2 separate regions of the Homo sapiens genome follow, and region 2 is linked to region 1. The links are contacts of gene promoters, found by promoter capture Hi-C in blood cells and fetal thymus (Javierre and others, 2016). All regions are on one chromosome and are shown on one strand. The core of a region is centred on a gene start or on the middle of the fragment in contact, and the rest is flanking DNA. Distances in the headings are between cores, read along the strand shown. Region 1 holds the start of MEIS1-AS2 (MEIS1 antisense RNA 2). Region 2 has its middle 37 kb from the start of LINC01799.

The links. The method cuts DNA at HindIII sites, captures the fragments that hold promoters and counts their contacts. A CHiCAGO score of 5 or more calls a contact.
Region 2: a contact is called between a fragment that was not itself captured here and the fragment with the promoter of MEIS1-AS2 in region 1, in 1 of 17 cell types (megakaryocytes). The highest score is 6.0, in megakaryocytes.

What each region holds. Positions count from the first base shown.
Region 1 is chr2:66,437,987-66,444,538 of GRCh38, forward strand. MEIS1-AS2 (MEIS1 antisense RNA 2) reads right to left here and starts at 2,344. Exons shown (of 2, transcript NR_046625.1): 1 at 2,239-2,344; 2 at 1,101-1,703. MEIS1 (Meis homeobox 1) reads left to right here. Exons shown (of 13, transcript NM_002398.3): 3 at 1,857-1,998; 4 at 2,576-2,626; 5 at 3,428-3,478; 6 at 4,916-5,062. RefSeq lists enhancers at 1,455-2,654, 4,454-6,096 and a silencer at 5,671-5,965. The HindIII fragment of the contact is 4,208 bases long and covers 1,067-5,274 here.
Region 2 is chr2:66,864,074-66,870,625 of GRCh38, forward strand. No RefSeq gene overlaps it. Among named protein-coding and RNA genes, the nearest start is that of LINC01799, 37 kb to the right of the region's middle. The HindIII fragment of the contact is 1,369 bases long and covers 3,276-4,644 here.

The DNA.
Region 1 (6,552 bases), core at 1,094-3,593:
AAGTAGTTGAGACTCAACGCTTCCCTCTTTCTCTGTGCCCTTGGTAAGAGGAAAGTCAGAGTTCTCTGGATTGGAGGTACATCTTTGGTGACTTTTCATTCACATTTCATGGATAATTTGGGGAGGTGGCCTGCCATCCCTGAAGCCCTACATCCCCATACACACTCTGTGCACATCCAGTGCCCTGCTCCACCATGGCAGTGCCCGCAAGGGGGTCCCAGATGAGAAGAAGCTGGCTAAAGGGCCCTTGTCCCCTCTCAGACTCCTTCAGCGGGCTGGAGTCCTCCCTCGCTCGATTTCGCCCGAGAGCGTTAGGGGTTTCTAAATGCAGGCGCCTTTGTGTTGTAACGAAACTTTTAGTTTAAGGGAAAATCTCTTTTAAGCCACTGATTGTTCTGACTTGCTGAGTTTACTCAGCAGCCTTATGCTGGCTCTGCCACTGCACAATAAAACCAAAGCAGGACAGTTGCAGGTCAAGCAAGGGGGAACATGTTTTGCATTTAGGGAGTTTGACCACTGAAGTCAAGGAGAGGAGCTTGCTCTGAATTGTTACACACATTAAGAAACTTCTAGATGTTTTAGCACTTTGTGCTCAAAGGCGAAACCTGCAGGATTTAGAAATAAGTAAATTCGGGGTGCTCTTCCTCGGAGGTTGTTTTCTGGCTGCGGTTTATACTGCTTTCTCCTCCGCCATTCGATTAGACCCTGGGCTAGTAGAATCCTTTGAAACTCACTTGTGCCTACTGTGTGCCGATGAATTTGGGAACCTCTTTTTACTTTGCAGAAACTTTTATTTCTATTTATTTATTTTTAAAAAATCAGGACACACTGACCCTCCCTCGCTGGAAAAAAAAATATATATAATCTTTTTATTTTATTTTCTGATCCCTTGTGCGATGGGCTTGTTTAATTCCCACCGTTCTGTCCGCAGAGTTAACTACAAGTGGTTTAGGCTCTGGGACAGAACATTTGGGGAAGCTTTGTAAAGGACCCCAAACTGTTAAATTCCCAGCTGAGCTGTGAGAGCTAATAAAAGACTTGAGATACCTCCTTGGGCATTAGAAGAAGCTTTTCTTTCTTTCTTCTTCTTCTTCTTTTTTTTTTTTTTTTCTTTTTTATGGGCTGAGACAAGCGACATCTAGGCCCCTCGCAATACTAGCTGCTTTGCCACTTCGCAGAGACAAAATGAAAGGCTCTACTGCAGGAACATTTGAAGGAACTTTCTTTGGGGGGCGGTGGGGGCTATCAGCGAAGGGAGGGGAATGTGCGTGGAGCTGAGGAGGAGCCTCCCGGCTCTCCGAGGGCCTTGGGGTTGGGATCCCTAGGTGCAGCCCGTTGACAGTCGGCCCCACGGCCATGGACGTCCTTTCCCCAAGTTAGCTGAGCGCCTGCCACCGAGATCCCCCGAGCCTGGGCTTCGCGCGGCCGCCTAGGAGGAACCCGCAGGAACCAGCCCTCCCCAACTCTCCGCCCGGCGCCTTTCTCCTCCACCGGATCCTGGATGTGCAGTGGAGGGGACGAGGGCTTGTCGGGTGGGAAACTTAATTCAAAATGGCTGCTGGAAACGCTTGGGTTTTATTCGTAGCAAATGTTGCCAATTTCTCCGGCCAGATACGCTAAACCGATCCTCAGATACCGTCCATGGCTCAGGGCCTCCGACTTCAGGGCTCCAGGAGGAAGGGGAGGTGAGCGGTCACCTGGGTCTGGGGGAGGGGGAGGAAAAGGAAAAAAGTAGATGACACAATCGGAGAGGGGGTCTGTTCCTCTTGCTCCTCCAGCTGTTTTTCTTGGGCACCTTTTTCCATTGACTGGGGACTAACCATTATGTTGTTTGTGACTGTTGTATTTTCTTGCAGACACCCCCTCTTCCCTCTCTTAGCACTGATTTTTGAGAAATGTGAATTAGCTACTTGTACCCCCCGCGAGCCGGGGGTGGCGGGCGGGGACGTCTGCTCGTCAGAGTCATTCAATGAAGATATAGCCGTGTTCGCCAAACAGGTCAGCAAAATAGATGTTAAAAAGTAAAAGAAACAAAAAGAGAGCCCCCCCTTCGCCAACACACACGCGCGCGCGCGCGCGCGAACACACACACACACACACACACACGGCACACTTTCAAAAGTAGCCAGCACGTAGTCGGCCTTAAGCCATGCATGTTACCTCCAACCTCAGATTTTCTCTCTGTCTGAGTGTCTGTTTGCAGATAACTTAAAATCACCCATCTGCATCCCCACTCACCCTCCAGAAAGCAAACGTGGAGAGCTCACTCTGCAGAATAAAATCAAGAACACCACGGTTGTAGCTGCTGTGGACTCGGCGGTCTGAGCAGCCTCCCCGAGAGCCGTAGTTGCTAGTAGAAGTAAGATTGAGCTCTGGGCTTGTTTTCAGCTTATTTAATTCACACTGAAATGTTTCTGCGCGGGACGAACTCGGTGTCACCGGGTCCCTCCCGGAGGGTTACTTCCTGCCCCCGACAGTGTAATGAGGCAAGAAACTAGGAAGGCGACCAGATTTCAAATTTTTCTTTCTTTTTTCTCTCCCCTCCCTCTCCCCTCTCCTTCTCACTTGTATTTAGATTCGCGCAGAAAAACCTCTATTTTCTTCTAATCCAGAACTGGATAACTTGGTAAGAGCGGACCCCTATTTCCCTCCCCCGCCCCCGACCCCCTACCTCCCACCTCCAACGCCCTCAGCTTTGCTTTGAGAGCCCTGAGATTTCTAGACCGGTCTTCCCGTGCCTGCAGGTTGGCTGCAAATGTTTCTGTACACGGACAACTGGTCCGGGACAAGATCCCGGGGAAATAAATTCATCTCGAGAGGGGCCGGGCGAGCCAGCGCGGGGAAACGCGAGCTTTTGTTTTTTATGACAGCCGGGCTGCGCAGCTCTAATCAGCGCGGGGATTTATCTCCCGGCCTGTCAGCATGTGTGCTTAAACTTTGCGGACTTCCTAGCCCTCTAAGTCCCATCACGAGGGCAGCCACCGGACAAGAGCCCCCAAACAACCAGTTTGCCTGAAAGGTGTAAGGAAGGCAGCAGAAACTTTGCAATGGGAAAAGCCACAGTTTGAGGGCCATTTGGAATATTTTTCTGTCCACTCCTTCCAAGGACACATGTAGTCCAGTGTTGTGGCCCTTTTGGGGTGGGGTGGGGCCAGTGGGACTGAGAAAGGGGAGAGCCATGGGGGAGGAGAGTGTTTATGATCCTCACTTAGATGCTGTGTTGTTGTTTTAGCTAGTTTTTTTTTTCTTAAGAAATATAAACCTCTAGATGGTACCCAGTTGCTGCTATTAAGTTTTAGTGTTATTGCCATAAATCAAAATAACTCTATTTACTGGTGGGAGGGGGTGGGCTGGAGATGGTAGAGCTGTGGCAGCCAGTTTTCTGCAAGCCAGGAATGGGGTGCTTATTGTTTTTGTATCTTTGCAGATGATTCAAGCCATACAAGTATTAAGGTTTCATCTATTGGAATTAGAGAAGGTAATTTCTCTAGCCTCTTTTCCTTTTACTTACCCCTTACCCCCAAACACACAGGGGGGAGGGTTCCGAATGGCTGAAGTTCAGCCTTCTGATACATTTGCATAAATGTCTTTCTTTCTGGTAATTAGTGTCAAGGCCAATCTTAGCGTCCATTTCTCTTCGCAGTTTAATTACAATTTCAGCCACTAAAACTGGGATCACAAACGCCCTAGCCTTGTGTTCATTCTTAATAACTTGCTGGCTTTGTGTAAATAGTTGCAATTCTGTGCATCCCAGCTGATGTTTCGAATGCTGCTCTGAGGTTGTTTCACAAGTTCATACCTCTGTTGTCTCTTCTCATCCTCTTCCTTCTCTTCTTTGCTACCTCTGAGGGAGAAAAAAGTTTTATTCAGTTGTAGTGAGTTTCTGGAAGACAGTCTTGAGAGCAAGGGCAGATCAGACACAGGGGAGAGGCAGAAGGGGAGAAGGAGGAGGAGCGGGAAGGAGTCTGGAGGAGGTGGTGGGGAGGCACATTAAACGTTTTGCAGAGACAAAGCAGAGTTGATAGTTGTGTCAATTTCTTGAATCTGTGAATCCTGCACACACTCCACCTTCACACTCAAGAAAGGGTGTGGGATAACATGATTTTGCTAGCTGTTCTATAAATCTCAGCAATAAAAACTTAATGCATTGTAATTCAAACTAACATTAAATTGCAAGCACACTGGGGTTTCTTGTGAATTTTTGCATGTCAGTGATGCCTGGGACCTCTAGGAAACCTCTGCACTTACACTTAAATATTTTGAGGCATTCCTTCTCCTTTTTGTAAAAAAAAAAAAAAAAAAAAAAAATCAATTTGATATGTTTTTGTGTGGCTGTATGTTTTCCCATATCAGGAGTACTGGCAACTTGATTTCCTTCCATTTTTTTTTCAAAGAAAGTTTTCTAAAATATACCCCTTAGAGATAAAAACCTTCATTACAAATATAATAAGGACTTGGGTTGTCAGGCATTTATCCTATGCCACCACAGTACAGGTTCTTTGGAGAATATATATGTGCATATATACACACGTATACATTTTTTTCTTAGACACATTAGAAAGGGATTTATGATAAAGTCACTGGATGAAATTAAATAGTTTACCTTAAATGTCACCTACGCAGGTCACCTCTCTAATGACCACAGCCCCAGGAGCAGATGAATTTAACACGGGTGTTGAATATGTTGTAGCCTGTGAATCATCTTGTCACTGTCAATTTTCTGGGATATCTCTATTTTGCAAGAAAAGAAAGTTATTCCTAATTCTGGATGCGTCTGGGGGTCTCTGGAGGACAATTGCCCTGTGTTTCCCCTATTTGGAAGTTTGGATCTCACAAGGGGGGTGGATTGCACTTGTCAATGTCATTTATGCACTCCTGATTATATTCCCATTTTTTTATTTCTGTCATAATGTAGGTACACGAATTATGTGACAATTTCTGCCACCGGTATATTAGCTGTTTGAAAGGGAAAATGCCTATCGATTTGGTGATAGACGATAGAGAAGGAGGATCAAAATCAGACAGTGAAGATATAACAAGATCAGCAAATCTAACTGACCAGGTATGCGCTTTTCAATTTCAACATCCCTGGGAAAAAAAAAAATCTGTATGCATATTGCTTGCTGGGTCACTACCACCTCCTTTTATTATTTGCATATGATTAAGTCCCTTTTAGATACATTTCCATCGAAATGAAAATTTTTGAATAATGTGGCTATTATTGCTTCATTAAGGCTGGCTCTGGGATTCGACCTGAAGAGATGAGCTTGTAAAAGCTTTGCTAGCAAACTTGACCTGTTTCTTGTCGCTTTTAATTTTTGTCTTTATTTTATTTACCCTCTATAATAATGGGAGTGTTAACTGCCAGTGACCGCCTCTGATTGTAGGGGCTTTGTTCCGGAGCATTTTTCCCCCTTCTATCTTCAAGAAAAGACAAGTGTAGGGTCTGCTTATTTCTTATTTTATTAGGAATAAATCCAAGATAGGTGGTCTAAGAAAGACAGCGAGAGTTTGAAATCTAGCAAATGCTGGCTATTTTCTCCCTGTCTGTACGGTTCATTAGCCTGTCTTGTCAGTTTTCCTCGGCCGAACGCTTCTAGACCTCACTGAACATTGCTTTGTGTGGTGTTCACTGCAAGCTCACCCATTTTATTGTACTTAATAGAAAAAATAAGACCAGGCCGAGGTTATAAAAACAGATAAATATGGACTTTTCTCCTCCTTCTTTCCACTCATCCTCCAGCTGGTATGTGCTCTGGGCCCTCTGGGTTGGCAGCTTGTGGACATATCAGCATCAGGGGCACCCCGGCGGCTCCCTGGGTAAGGAGTGTGGGGGACCTCGCACCGCCTTTGCTCTCAACTGAGGGCCTTGGCTTGCTGCACCCTCTCCTCTCCTGTCTTCCCTCCAGGCCCTTCTTCCGATGCGTTACTAAGTGGGGACGACTTTTATTTGGAATTGCTGTGGGGATTTCTCTCTCTCTGTCACCCCAACACCACCGTTTGCTCCCAGGGTGCCTCTCTCTCTCCTGTGGCTGTATCTCTGGATTGGTCCAAAGGAGTTGCAAAAATGCAATGAAAGTGAAAACGTGTAGAGTGAGTGAGATGAAACAGGGCTCAGAACAGTTCCGTTGCGAATTGTTGCAAGGCGTCTAGAGATTTGGGTAGCTGGCCTGCTCTGCACCCTCCCACCCTTCCCCCCTATATAAGTGAAGTCCCAGTGTTGTTTCTCTTTCTGACTCGGCACGTGAGTCCAGATTTGGGGGAAGAGATCAGCCTGCCTTTGTTAAGCCAAAGGCCAGCTACTCTGCAAGCTCTGCCATGATCTCTGTTGGCCAGTGGCTGTCTTGTACAGTCCTTGTCGAGCGCCTGACGCCTGGTTCTTAGTGTCATCTTATGGTTTTCTTCTCTCAACATCATCCTCTTAAAATACATTCTCAGCTTGATTTTCTCTGGGCAATCCCCGCGACATGGGCTGAATTCCTCTTTTGCCCATGGGGAGCGAGAAACAGGCAGAGCAGAGATTTAAAAGTGCCAATGCGCCGGGTCCGCACT
Region 2 (6,552 bases), core at 2,710-5,209, 430 kb after region 1:
AAGTTCCATGACCTTAGACAAGTTTTTTAAACCTATCTAAGAATTGGTTTCTTCATCTGTAAAATGATGGTAACACAAGCTATGAGGTAGAATTACAAGACAGATTTAATGAGATTATATATATATATAAAGCCCTTAGAAGGGTGGCAGGCATATATCACCAGCACTCAATAAAGAGTAGGTGTTATTTTTGCTGCTATAGCTATTGCTACCATCATCTAACTACCATGAACTCTTATTGAATCCATACTCTCATCTAAGACACCAGACTCTTTTTATTCTTCCAGCGATAGTTTATTGGTACTTGTCAATGTTCTAAGCACATGAGGTGCTTTGATCATGGGAATTAAGAGTCCCAAGCTCTATGTGTGATCTCGAGGGTAGTGTATCCTTCTGGTTGAGCCAATTAACAAGAGGGATGGACATGTTGAAGTATGACTAGCAGAATTACTTCAGAATAGTAAAACTAAGTCATATATAGAACACTAAGAAAACTGAGGATATTCAGTAGAGAGAGAACTTGGGAGGAATATCATAGCCCCTTTCAGATATGTGAGGAGTTATAGTGTCAAACAGAGATTGAACTGGGTCAGAGTTTCTCAGTCGCAGTGGTACTGACATGTTGGGTTAGATAATTCTTTGTTAAGGGGGTGTGGTGTTGTCCTGTGACTTATATGGTGTTTAACAGTGCCACTGGCCTCACTATACTCTATATTTCAGTAGCATTTTTGGTAGCTGTAACAACCAAAAATGTCTCCAGACTTTACCAAATGTCTTCTGAGAGCCCAAAATCTGGGAGTCTTCTAGGAGCCAATTCCTTTGTTTGAAAACCACTGGACTAGATTAATCTTATAGAACAGAGCAGAACTATGACTAGTTTATGGAAATGCCCACAAGGATGCTGTTGGTTGATCCCAAGGAGGACCTTATTACTACTATCCAGCAAGTTCCCACAACAGAACAGACACTTCAGAGGGCAGTGAGCTCCCGGTCACTGGAGGCATTCAATCACAGGCTGATAAGTTGCTGGGGTTTTCTTAAATAGAGTGTTCATTTGGGGAAGATGGTTGGTCTTCATTATTTCTATCTTTCTAATTCTCCCATAGTCTACATTCTTTGTAAAATAAATTTCTGTCATTTCAGATGGTCTAGCCCATCCTTAACAAGCAGTTATAAGGAGAGGACTAACATCTAAAGAGGACACCAGAGGTCTGATCTCAGATCCCCTTCTATTTGTGACTTGCTGTTTGTGAATTTCTAAACTTCACTGGGCATAAGGATCCCAGATGCTTTCTCTTATTCAAATCCAACATTTCATGGTTCTGGAATGTTGTTTCCTAACTGTAATGTCAAATCAGAAAAGTTCCCTGTCACTCCTTCTTCTTTATAGTTTATGGTTTAATTGACAATCTGGAGGAACTCTCATTGACTCAGATCTAGAGATTCTGTTGCTGAGGTGCTTAGATCTTAAAACCTGAAGGAGAAGAATGAGATAAAAACTCAAGGTTTTTGGCTGATACATAGGTAGATACTGCCTTTCACTAACAAATAAGGAACATGGTTGAGCCTCAAAACTATTTTCTGCAAAACCCTGATGCTGTGCCCTAGAAGATAATCAATGTATAGTGATTGAATTTAACAAAATAAAGTATCCTTCCATGTAGTGGATTTCATGCCTTAAAAATTCAGCATTTACTGTATGTCTTCTAACACTGTTATGGTTTTCAAATATTTTAAGTTTGGGACACTTTTCATTTTCTATGTGAAGTCTCTAATAGGATTATAATATGTTATCACAGGTCTTGCTTGCCATATAGCTCAATGACCAAGTCTTTCTAATATTAGGAGATAGTATCTACACACTTTCATGTAATGCTAGATGAATATGTCTATTGCAAAGGCAACAAACTGATTTTGAAAGAGGATAATATGTTCTGTAATTGTTAGATCCATGCTCACCTCTTCCTACCGAATTAACCATAACATCATCTGCCTAAAATGTATCCACATCTGTGGTTCAGAGATCTGCCTCATCTGATATCCTCCTTGAGGCTAATAAACAAATCAAAGATGGAACCAGTTCAAACACAAAGAGGCTACAGATAAAAAAGAGAGTATGGCAAGAGAAAGAAAATACTTGAACTTTTCAAGCAAGGATGCCACCCACTTTTAGATTTATAATAGATGGTCCAATAGCATTTTAAAGTGACTGTATCAGTTAGAATAGGCTAGGTTATAATGCAGTAACAACTCCCAAATTTCAGTCCCTTAACAATAAAAGGTTATTTCTTGTTCTTAGCCATCTTGGGTCTACTTTAGTACTGCTCCGTGTTCTGTTTACTCCACAGCCCAGTTGACAGAGCAATTTCTCTTTGGGACATTGCTGGTCATTGAGCAGAGGGAAAAAGAAAGCCTGGAAACCACATACTGGTTCTCAAAGCTTCTGCATGTCAGCGACACATATTTCCTGCATATTTTACTGACTGCAGAAAGTCCTGTGGCCAAGCCCCACCAATAGAGGAGAGAAATGTAATTCTCCTTCATTCAACCTTCAGTATTATAAGCTTTCATGGTCCTTTTCCTGTGGAATTAATCACCGTTCAGCAACAAGCTGAACCATGTAAACTTAAAAAATGGGAGAACACCTGTGTGTGCCCATGCATGATGCAGAATTTGGATCAGCATTTCTTTGTCTGAGGACCTTTTCTTTCTCCTGCTGAGTTGGATGGGGAATCTGAAGCCCTGTCATCTTTCCCACAGCCCCCTGCTATCTTTGAGAGAGAAGGCACCAGCTGTGTTCCCTGATGGAGTGGGGATGGCAGCTGCAAGCTGAAACACCATGTTGTCTCATGTAGTTTCTCTGTCAGTGCATCTATGGATGTGTGACCACCTTGCTAACTAACCACTTGTAGAGGCATTTAAAATCCACATGTCTGGCCTTATTATGGCAAGATCATTCCACAGGAGCTGAGCATGAGTGTGTGGCACTGATGAGCTGCTGTCTGTCTAGTTAGTTTGCCTTTCCAGTTTCCATTGCTTATGACACGAGTGTTGTTGAAATTGTGTCAGAGTGAAAATCTGTCATCGACTGTAAAAGGAGAAAAAACAGGCAAATGTGGCATGTAACTTGTCTGCATAAATCTCCTCTGTTGCTTCAACCCTTCATGCAATAAAACAGCTCATCCTGAAGTTCTGTTCATTGCACATCAGAACAGAAATTCATTGTTTTCTTTCCTCTGTGTCATAAAACAGCAATGCCTCCTAAGTATTTGACAAGCTTCTATTCTGCAAAAGCTCCAGAGTATCCCCAAAGAACAAACTTGCAACTTCAAGACTTGATGGTGTCAAATGCTAAATGGTGTCTTGTTTGGGCAGCCAGAGGACATAATTAGATTTGAAGTCATCATCTATAATCTACTAAATTCATGATTTTATGATATGATTAGGCATGCTCTTCTCTGCAATGACCTAAAAATAAGATAATGCGATGGAAACAGAATTTACTGGATATATAAACAGCCCTCGCTCTGAGATGGTGCTTTGTCTGGGTCAGATTTCTTGTGATTGGCAGGAAGCTGTGACAGCTCTTATTGTATGTTTCTAAGAGGAACATGGGTAGAAATGGTCAATTAGAACTGCCACTCAGCCTCTCCTCACTGTGGCTGCTGTTGGGCTGCCTCTTGAGCTCTGAACTAGCTGTTAAAATGGGGAAATCCTGCTCCCCAATGTCATTGGGTTAAGTAGGGTGATACTAGGAAAATCTTAATTGCATGCCCACACCTCTAAAGTTACAACCCAGCAAAAATGAACCAACTTAATGCTTATGGGATAGAATTAACCATCAGTTTAAGTACAGGATAGTTCGAGTGGAATATTTCCTCTCTATTTTCTTCTTAACCACTGAGAGACAGCTATCTCTTTCCCTACTGCATAACCCTCTCCTCTATGCACAAAAATCTTCCCCTACCCCCACTACACAAAGACACACTCCCTCCCAGAAGTATGTAAGGACACAGCCATGCGTGTGATTTTTTTCTCCTCTTTCTTCTTCCAGTGTCCTGATGTCAAGGTGAATGGGGTCAATAGAGAGAGCAGCTGGTAGGAGCCAGTCTTTAGCTGATTTCCTCCTCGAGTTGTGGGGGCTGCTGCCAAGTCATTCGTCTCACCCTGTGTGTCTGTTATAATGTTGCAAAAGAAAACAGAAGGTGAGTTCAGTCCAATGTGGGCAACTCAACAAACAGGTGGGAAAGGCATACAAAAGTTTAATCAATGCCATTCTGAAGAAATTGTCTTTGTACTGAAAGTGAGCTAAAAGAGTGTTGGGTTTGGAGCTAGGAAGTAAGAATTTCTTGAAGTGGTCTTTGGAGTTAAACAAGCTGGAAAGACTAAGTGAGGAAAAACAGAAAATAATAGAAGAGAGTAGAGAAGAGGAGAGGAGGAGAGAAAAGAGATGGAGAGTGGAAGAAAGGGAATAACTAGAGAAGAGGAGAGAGGAGAGGAAAGACAGACCATTCTAATCACAAGGGATAGGTGGAGATTAAGGAGGGAGACTCTCCTGGGGGGTCAAAATGGTCTAGAGCCTTTTCCTACTGGACTGAGTTAAAAAAGAATAAGGAAGCACCTAGATAGATTGGGTATAGAGTAAGCTTGAGCTAAGGAAATGGGTAAACAATTAATCTTGAAGTGGACCATGAAGAGACGGAGTGTGTTGGAGCATTCTTCCACAAGTGCCCCTTTCTTCCATAAGTCACAGTTCATTCTGCAACCTCTTGGGTTGGGGACCCAGATGAAAACTGATGAAAAAGGGGTATCAAAGAGCCACCCTGTGCTGTTGGTTGACAGCTGCTTTGGGTCCTATTTTCTAGGTACTACTGAAACCATCTCCAGGTCCAGGCAGGGATGCACAGGAGGTCTTGGCCTCCTGCTGCTCATGCAAGAAGGAGAGCCTCCAGTAGGTCCACTCACCCTACTCCCTTTTATCCAGTGTGAGACTCTCACTTCTGACAGCTCATTTTGAGGAGGAGTTTATGTTGGGTTAATTCCATCAGAATATAAATGCTTTGTCGTCTTTGATACAAACGGCTGTATTGAGTACGTTGGTGGCTCATTTTATGGACTCAGACTGGGCTAAAATGGAAAAAAATGTCAGAGGCTGAGTTGCTGCTATGGAGTTGATTAGATAGGAACAATGAGTTTAGATGAGACAGAAGGATGTGGTGAATGATCCTATTAATAGTCATGTGAGTCATGTGGTTGTGGCCAACATTTAGAGCCCTTAGAGTTCAGAAAGAGTGAGGCTGCTCAGGGATGGGCCTGGAGGTGGAAAGGTTCATCCTGGGCCTTGAAGTATGAGGAGGGAACTGCAGAAGGAGTAAGGTCAGGAAAGCATCCTATATTAGGGCAAGGCAAGGTCACTAAATAATTTTACGAATTATATGTTGGAATTCTCTCTTCCTTCTCTTCTTTCCTGCTTCACTACTTGTCAAATTAGCACCCTCTTGCCATTTAATGAACTTTTGATATGTTTCTTTAACCTGTCAAGTTTATGAGGGGGAAATTCCATGGCAATTCCTTCTAATTTATAACACAGTTTGCTCAGGATATAGTAAGCATATTTTGAGGTTCTGCAGTATAACTGAAAATGCTGTAAACACTGGAAATCAGGAAAAGAGGTCCATATACTCATGTACATTTATTAAGTAGCTGCAAGTGAAAACCCTGGGGGGATAGCACTGAAGAAAGCAGGCAGAAGCCTGCCCTCATGTGGCTTCCATTTCAGTGGGCATGGAGACAATAAAGAAATTTACACCAAGGTGTGTAAGACAGCAACAGATAATAGCCAGTGTTATGAATAGGAAGAAGGGTAACAGGCATGCTGGTGGCTGTGATTTTATGTTTCTATTTCATATGGGTGGCCAGGGAAATTTTTCTGAGGAGCTGGCATTTGAACAAAGACCTGAATGAAGAAAGGGGAACATCCCGGCAGATCTCTGGGGAAAAAGCCTTTCAGGCAGATGAAATGGTCAGCGTGAAGATTTCAGGTCGACATATCCGTGATCTGTTCAAGGAATGGTTTTGGAGGCCACATGAATGAACTTGCAGAAGGTGGAGATGAGGTCAGAAGTGGCCAGGACACATGAGACCTTTTGGACAATATTAAGTCTTCCTGATTTTATTCTAAATATGATGGAAAACTGTTGAAGAGTTTTGGCTAAAGGAATATGAACAAATATATTACAATATGCAAAATAAGGTGGGGTGGGATGAAAGCTGAAAAGATAGAAAACCAATAAAGCACAGAGCTTTGCAGAAGCCACAATCTAATAGGGAAACAGAAGGGGCAACAAGTGCTTGAATACAGTGTAATGAGGACCCAAGAAGAGGAATGTTGGAGTTCAATGGGTACACCAGGGAGGTGGAAATGAGCTTAGCCAGGGGATCCAAGGATGGTCTCACAGAGAATTTACATGTCAGATGCATCTTGAAGATTGAGCAGGGATTTTTCAGATACAAGAAACTGAAAAAGCCTGACTCACAGAGGAGCAGCACATC